2 separate regions of the Homo sapiens genome follow, and region 1 is linked to region 2. Evidence: promoter capture Hi-C in 16 types of primary human blood cells and fetal thymus (Javierre and others, 2016). All regions are on one chromosome and are shown on one strand. Each heading gives the region's core, a stretch centred on a gene start or on the middle of the fragment in contact. The rest is flanking DNA. Distances are from core to core; before and after follow the strand shown. Region 1 overlaps RAI1 (retinoic acid induced 1). Region 2 holds the start of SREBF1 (sterol regulatory element binding transcription factor 1).

Region 1 (3,918 bases), core at 472-2,971, 95 kb after region 2:
CTGTTCCTCCTCAGGCGTCCCCGTATGCACCAGTGCCACCATTCACACAGTCACTCAGGTCTGTAGGCAAAGCCTCTTAAATACTGTGTGGCCAGAACTGTGCAAAAAAATGCAATGACTGTCTCACAGCCCAAACCAGAATCGGGCAGACAGAGCTCCTGCTGGTCTCCCCTCCATTCCCTTTTAGCTCCCCTCCCTGCCCTGAGCCTGCCCGCTCTCCTACGGCCCAGCCAGGGGCTGCAGAGTGGATCCGGGCTCCATGCAGCCTAAAAGATGTCCTTGGCCCTCCTATGCCTCATGCCAGTTCCTGATCCTGGAAGGGATCCATGGCAGCCAAGAGGCTAGTAACAATTCAGATTCCCAGGCCACCTCTAAGGATTGAGATTAAGTCAGGTCCTAGGACGGGAGCCGTGCATGTGCCCAACCAGCCAAATCCTGGGCTGCTCCTACATTTGCCAGCTGAGCTTCAGAGACCTGGTGCCTGCCCATTGGGGTCAGGAGGCAGCCCCAGAGAAACCACGTGTGTGGGGTCTGCTGCGCACATGTCCTGGAGTTTCCAGTGGCATACACCAGTCTGAAGGAGGCTGGATACCAGCAGTGATGGGCTGCTGCGGGCAGGGGCAGCGACTGGGCTCCTGGACGCTGCCACTCAGGGGCCTCCACACCCCTCTGGAACCGTGTGTTCCTGCGCCCTGGGGGCCTGGCATATAGTATGGCACAAGCAATGCTTAGGATGTGGAACCAAGCATAGCACTGGGTACAGATTCCTCCCAAATCACAAAGGCTACCATTTATCAAGTGCCTACCCATGGTGAGTGTTCTGCCTTCAGGATCTTGTTTAAAACTGGGGCTGGGGTGTGAGCCCATTGGGAGGCACTCTGGGAGGCCAAGGCAAGAGGATCACATGAACCCAGGAGTTGGAGACCAGCCTGGGCAACATAGTGAGATCCCACCTCTACCAAAAAATTAAAAATTAGCCGGGTATGTTGGCATGTGACTGTAAGTCCCAACTACTCGGGAGGCTAAGGTGGAAGGATGGTTTGAGCCTGGGAGGTTGAGGCTATGGTGAGCTGTGATCATGTCACTGCACTCCAGCCTGGGCTGCAGAGGGAGACCCTGTCTCAAAAATCAATAAATCAGGGACTGGAATGAAGGGAGTTGTAATAGCAAAAATGTTTTCCTACATTCACCCCACAGAGACTTACATAAATACCTGGCTCCTGTTCCCAGGTTGGAGAGCAGGAAGGGACACTCTGCAGCCCAGGGAGGTCTGAACCACATCCAGATCTCACTGGGGACAGGGATGGCCGAGGGGCCCCATAGGGTTGTAGAACAGTGCGTGTGCAAGGACCCCCAAACCAGATAAGAAATGCAGGGGATTCCCAGAGCCTGGAGGAAGGTCTAAAGGACCTTCTAAGGGTGCCCACCCTTGGCTCTGGGGGACTCAGGTGTGGGACAGCATGGACATGAACTTGCGACTTCACACACTTCTCTCTCTCTCTCTCTTTTAAAACGAGTGCATATTATTTGTTAAAAGCAGAGGGGATATTATTTTTGGCAAAGTTTCCAGTGAATTCAGTGCCAGAGCTTAGGGAGAGTGGGGTTGGTTGGAGGTTAGTCCTTCCAGATAGATAGTTTCAGACTCTGGAGAACATTCATTCCTTTATTCATTCATTCATTCACTCGTTCATTCATTCATTCATTCATTCATTCAAACCAAGATCTGACCCTCTGAGCAACTTGCCTGCTACCTCAGGCCTCGGCAGTAAGAATTCCTTCATTCATTCCACAAATATTCATTAAGTGTCTATTGTGAGTCTTGGGAGCCTCTGCCAGCCCTGTCTGTGGTGAGCCTGGAACCATGATCAGAGGCTGGGCTGGGAGTGGACAGGCCAGGGTGGGGCAAGCAGGGCAAAGCCATGTGGCACTGCCTGGCATCTGCTGTGGGCCCTGACGTCCCTGCCCCTTGACTCCTGAATATCATCACCCGTGGCCACAGAAGCCCACCTCCCACCCCAGAGCCGGCAGGCACCCAAGACGGGAATTATGGTCTCCACAAGAGACACTGACATGAAGCTGGTTACTGCCTTTTCAGCAAACGTAATTCCTTTTTATTAGAAAATTAAAGGGTAGGACCAGCTTGCCAAAAGCCAAAAGAGCTGAAATGTGCTTTCCTAAGATATGCAGCGTCTGATAAAACGGATTTACCCATCTCCCTCCTGTTCTATCGTCATCTCCCTCACCCAGTCTCTCCTCCATTCATTCCCCTTCCACTGGCACCGAAGCAACGGCCGTGAGCTTGGCCCTGGCCGACAGGCCCAGCACCCTGGATGTGGGGAGTGTGCTTTTGTTTCCTTCATGCTGAGCCCCACTCCCGGGCTTTAAGCCTTTTTAGAACCACCTCGGGGATTCTCTTGCTTTCCTGAGACGCAAAGGCTGCCTGTGGCCTCTGCTAAGCTGAGGGTGTCAGGAGGGGAAAGGCAGGAACAATAAAGGATTGAGCTCCCGGAGAAACAAGCTCATCCATCTGGAGACCCAGGAGCAGGCAGTTCCAGACAGAGCCAGCTGAGGGAGGCGGCCAGGGCAGAGAGCCGAGGACGAGTCCCGCACTGCCACACAAAAAGCAACTATTCAAAACCACCCAGGGAGTTCTCTCTTATTGAAAAGTCCTTGATTCTTCCCTTTCTGTGGCAGAACTCATGAACAAGGGCCCCGTCTTATTAATGGGGTGATGGAGGGGCCCGGGAGGGAGGGTCCCCCTGCTCAGGAAGGTGGCCGAGCCCGCCCTGCGAGTCATTAGGAGCTGGTAACTAAGGTAACTCCAGAATCGGATTTTCTTCCCACTAATCTCTCTTTTTCTCTTTTCCTTTCTCTCTCTTTTTTTCTCTGCTGGTCAGATGCTACCTTCCTGGTTTAGAGGGGACTCAGGAGGGTGGTGGGGAGAGACGGAAAGAAAGGCGTGCGTGTACGTGTGCGCTTAAGTGTGTGAGTGTGAGCGTGCGTGTGTGCGTGCGCGAGTGTGTGTGTGTGTGTGTGTGCGCGCGCGCTTGTGCTGAATACTAACATGGTCACCACACTCCGGATGCTCTGACGGCGGGCGGGGGTGGTGTCTCGGCTCAGGTATGTGTGCCCCTGCCCTCTCCCCACACTGCCTCACCCACCCCTCCCACCCGCCCACGGCCTCCCTGTTCAAGGGCAAAGCCATTCCCTCACTCCCTCCTTGAGTAACAAAAGACAAGATTGAGTTTCCTTTCACCTGCTCTGAGGAAGTATCTGCTTTGGCAGGTCTAGCACAGCCTGCTTTGTTCTGGCGAAAACCAAAACGGGATCTGTCCTGGGGCTTGCCGGGGTGGGCAACAGGATGCAGGTCAATACAAAAATCAATATGAAAAATAGCATTGTCCCCCAGGCTCCTGCTGCCTGGACCTCCCTCCCTGAAAGCTGAAGTCCAGGGAGGTGCAGCCAAGTCAGCTTTGCTCTGAGAAGACAGGTTCAAACCCCAGCCAGGCCACCTGATGGCCACGTGGCCTGGGGCAAATTCATTCACTCTCTGAGCTGATTTTCTTGCCCTACACAGCAACCTTAGAGAAGTGCCTGTACCTATTCGAAGCCCCCAGCACGGCATCAGGCCTCTTTCCCACCTGGTCCTCTTTAGGGCTCAGAGCAGATGAACCACTTCCACCAGGGTGGGTGGGGAGCAAAGAAGAGATGGGTGACCCCCAACTCTCCAGAGGTGGCTGTGTTAGGGTTCCAGTCTTGCAGGTAGTGTTTCTGAGGAAGAGGAACACCACCAGCCCCTGGGACCTAAGGGTTCTCTGGATGACAGAGGAGGAGCTAGGGACCCCTGGCCAGGGTCCTCCCCAAAGGGGGCCTGGACCACCAGCACAGCTTGGGGCAGGCAGGACCCCTAGAGGCTGC
Region 2 (4,000 bases), core at 1,192-3,691:
AACGGTGAGGCGGGTTGGGTGCAGTAGCTCACGTCTGTAATCCGAGCACTTTGGGAAGCCGAAGTGGGTAGATTACTGGAGGCTAGGAGTTCGAAACCAGTCTGACCAACATGACAAAACCCCATCTCTACTAAAAATACAAAAATTAGCCGGGCGTGGTAGTGCATGACTGTAATCCCATCTACTCGGGAGGCTGAGGGAAAAGAAATGCTTGAACCCGGGAGGCCGACGTTGCAGTGAGCCAAGATTGTGCCACTGCACTCCAGCCTGGGCAACAGAGCGAGACTCTGTCTTAAAAACAACAACAACAACAACAACAACAACAACAAAAACAGTGATAGCCAGGTGCAGTGACTCACACTTGCAATCCCAGCACTTTGGGGGGGCCGAGGTAGGTGGATCACCTAAGGTCAGGAGTTCAAGACCAGCCTGGCCAAAATGGTGAAACCTCATCTCTACTAAAAATACAAAAATTAGCCTGGCATGGTGGCGTGCGCCTGTAATCCCAGCTACTCAGGAGGCTGAGACAGAATTGCTTGAACCTGGGAGGTGGAGGTCGCAGTGAGCCGAGATCATGCCGCTGCACTCCAGCCTGGGTGACAGAGAGAGACTTTGTCTCAAAACAAAAAACAAAACAAAACAAAACAAAAAACAGTGAGGCAGATCTGTTGTGATGATGACTCCAAAACACCCTCCCTGCCTCTGCAGAGGGACTGCAGAAAGGGTTATTCCCATTTTATAGATACAGTAGCTGAGACTCAGAAGTGAGGTATTGGATCCAGGTCACACAGCAAGCAGGTGAAAACCCAGATCACCTGCCTAGCTCTGAAGAAAATGGTATTTAGGCTTCACCCAGCACTTCCTATCCCACCCCCTCCCTGGGAAGGGCTGTTTAAATTTTCAGGGAAGTCACCAGCTTCCTGCAGCCTCTAGAGTGTTGGTGGGGGTGGGGCACTGAGGAGAAGCCAGCTTTGTTCTCTGTGTTCTCCAGCAGTTGTTCATCTGGAGGGAGTGGGTCCTGGGTGGACCCTTGAGCAGGGCTACTTGGGGAGATGTGGTTTGGCGACCCCTATGACTTCTGGCGCCGCTATTCTGGGTAATTTTCCACCGCAGCCACTTCTGGGAGAGGAACAAAGGGAGCTGGATGTCCAGGCTGAGCCCCAGGGACTTGGGCTCTGTGGCTTCTCTCCCCCACACACCCCTTCTAAAATGCATCATGAATGTTACTCCTGCTTAGGGCGTGGCCAGATAGGCTATATCTGGAGTTTGAGCAAGGCAGTCTGCAGGATGGCTTGACTTATGAAGGTCTGGGGTCGGGAAGGCCTGAGGCCCAGGCCCCTGATGAGTTTCCTGGACTGCCCTCCACCAAGGGTGCTTCTCTCTGCTTGCATACCTCTGGGGACAGGGAGCTCACTGCCTTATCACATTCAGATTCCTGAATGTTAATTCTGGTTTATTTCAACCCACCTCATTGGGACCCCTTCCCTCCTTCCTGCCCCACCTGGCTCTGTCCCTAGGCCACAGAACCAGGTTCGGTTTCCAGCCCTCTTCTCAACAGGGCTGCCTGCTCTGATCTAGTCCCAGCTTGTGATGATCCAGGGCAGCCTGGCTCTGATCTAAAGCACAGCTACCTCTTCCTTGCGGCCCCTATCCTGGCTGCTCCTGGGAATAAGTGCCAAATCTGGGGTCAGACAGCCCTGGGGCCAGTCTTCCTTGGGTACTGGCTTCCTCCTTCAGGAGCTGCACTGGGCCCACTGGTATCCTATCCCTACAGCTGGATCTGGGAGGAAACCAGATGACGAAATTCCAGCCTCTTTCTTTGGCCACTCCTGTCCTCAAGAGGCCAATCTTCTGGTTTCTTTGCAGAGAGGGGGCAGGCTGATCTCACAGGTCATGCTCCCCTCCACATTGTCACTAGCCTCCCAGCCTGCCCGTGAGAAAGCATCATTAGGCCCATGTTACAAATGAGGAAAATTGAGGCAGAGTGATGTAACTGGCCCAGCAGTTACATCAGGCCTGCTCACAACACAGCAGGCCTGGGACCCCTATAACTTGGATCCTGGTCTGTCTTGTTCTAAAGAGTCAAATCTAGGAAATGAGGAAATGAAGTTTGGGATGGGCCCAGGCCTGGGGCTTCCACTCGGCTTCCTTGCTTGGTGCTGGAGAAACAGAGGCCCAGAGAGGGGGCTCGGCTTGCCCGCGTTCCCGCAGCAGCCGGCCAGAGGCCGCTGCCATTGTGCGCGAGGCTGGATAAAATGAATGACTGGAGGGCGCTCTGGAGGAGGGGCCGGCTGAGGGGAGATTTGTGGCGCAGACCGGGGATCAGGGGTCCCCCGCTCTCTCAAGGTGGGGCGGGGCCGTCTATCTGGGAGGGCGGGTCCTCCCCGAAAGGCCCCGCCTCCGCCTCGACCGCCCAGCAGAGCTGCGGCCGGGGGAACCCAGTTTCCGAGGAACTTTTCGCCGGCGCCGGGCCGCCTCTGAGGCCAGGGCAGGACACGAACGCGCGGAGCGGCGGCGGCGACTGAGAGCCGGGGCCGCGGCGGCGCTCCCTAGGAAGGGCCGTACGAGGCGGCGGGCCCGGCGGGCCTCCCGGAGGAGGCGGCTGCGCCATGGACGAGCCACCCTTCAGCGAGGCGGCTTTGGAGCAGGCGCTGGGCGAGCCGTGCGATCTGGACGCGGCGCTGCTGACCGACATCGAAGGTGCGTCAGGGCGGGCAGGGCTTGAAGCTGCGCCGGGTGGCGCGAGTAGGGGGCGCGCAGGTGTCTCCCTGGCCTTTGTCTCCCCCACGGGCGCCAGCTCCGTGCTGTGCTCGCGCGGGACTTCCCGGTGTCTCTGAGCTCGGTGTCCCGAGCCTCACCGAGCCTCCCTGGTTCCCGCGCTAGCGTCTCGGGCCGCGCGCTTGTGGGTGAGGGCTCCTGGGCCGGGCCGGGGTCCCTTGGCGGCTCCGGGCCGGGACACGTGCGCCTCTACGCGTCCCAGGCCGGGTGCCGCCCGACCGGTGACTCTCCAGCCCTGTGATGGCCACGGCTGAAGCTGGGGACCCAGGCGTCGCCGAAGCTCCGCCCCAGCCCCAGCCGTGACGTAATTGCGAGGTTACTCACGGTCATTCCCTCCGGCCCGAGAGTTCAGCTCGGCGTCGGAGCTCTTGCGCATGCGCATGGGCGCTGCCTCGCGCCCTTCCCCCGCCTCGTGTCGGGTTCTCCCGGTCTGCGACGGGCACAGCCTCCGCACTCATTCACTGACATCCACCGAATGCCAGGCCCCGTCTTAGGCACCGAGGGTTTACAGACAGACCTGGGTACCCCCTCTTTTAGGGAACACAAAAATCTCCCGGGAAACCAAACGGGTATTTAGTTGTACCTTGGGTGGAGCGAGGCTGGGGGAGGGCAGGGATGTGGCTACTTTGGGTAGAGCGGTCAGGGACTTCTAAGCTGAGACCTGAGGGTCACCCCCAGGACCAGCAAGGAAAGATGTTTTCCAGGCCACGGCAAGGGAAGGGCAAAGGCCTCGAGGCAGGGCCTAAGTGTGAGGAGTTAGAGGCTTGCAAAGGAGTGAGGTCAGGGAGGAGGAGGACGCAAACCGACTTGGTCGGCCAGGGAAAGGGCGGAGCAGAACAGTGGCACCGGCTTCCATCTTTGGAGCATCACCCTGGCTGTGATGAGAAGGGGTTTGGGGCCAATGGTGGCACCAAGTGCCAATTAGGAGGCCCGTTGCTTCCATTTTGTAGATAGAGCAAACGGAAGCCCCTAGCAAATTGCCTGCATGGTTTCTGTGCAGGAGTTTTAGCAGCACTAGCTAAGTTGCACTTGGTTGATGAGGAAACTGAGGCCAAGGTCGCAGGAACAAGATGCCTAGACTCACAGCCTGAATGGACATGTCCATGGAACCCGTGGCCACCCTGGGGTTGGCAAAACAGATATATCTATGCCACCACCACTCCTGCCCTACTGCAGCCTTGCAGATGAGCCCAGCTGGTTGCCAGCCCCAGAAGCTTCCCAG

What was found. Contacts are between HindIII fragments. The CHiCAGO score rates a contact against its expected background, and 5 or more counts as called.
Region 1: a contact is called between a fragment that was not itself captured here and the fragment with the promoter of SREBF1 in region 2, in 1 of 17 cell types (naive CD8 T cells). The highest score is 5.1, in naive CD8 T cells.

Annotation. Positions count from the first base shown.
Region 1 is chr17:17,740,212-17,744,129 of GRCh38, reverse strand. The region is part of intron 2 of RAI1 (retinoic acid induced 1); the gene reads right to left. Among named protein-coding and RNA genes, the nearest start is that of RAI1-AS1, 24 kb to the left of the region's middle. RefSeq lists enhancers at 568-1,069, 3,532-3,918. The HindIII fragment of the contact is 5,638 bases long and covers 1-3,918 here.
Region 2 is chr17:17,835,427-17,839,426 of GRCh38, reverse strand. It overlaps SREBF1 (sterol regulatory element binding transcription factor 1), which reads left to right and starts at 2,441. Exons shown (of 19, transcript NM_004176.5): 1 at 2,441-2,700. The coding sequence starts at 2,610. RefSeq lists enhancers at 860-1,761, 1,762-2,664, 2,665-3,566 and silencers at 2,433-2,592, 2,783-3,062. The HindIII fragment of the contact is 13,614 bases long and covers 1-3,994 here.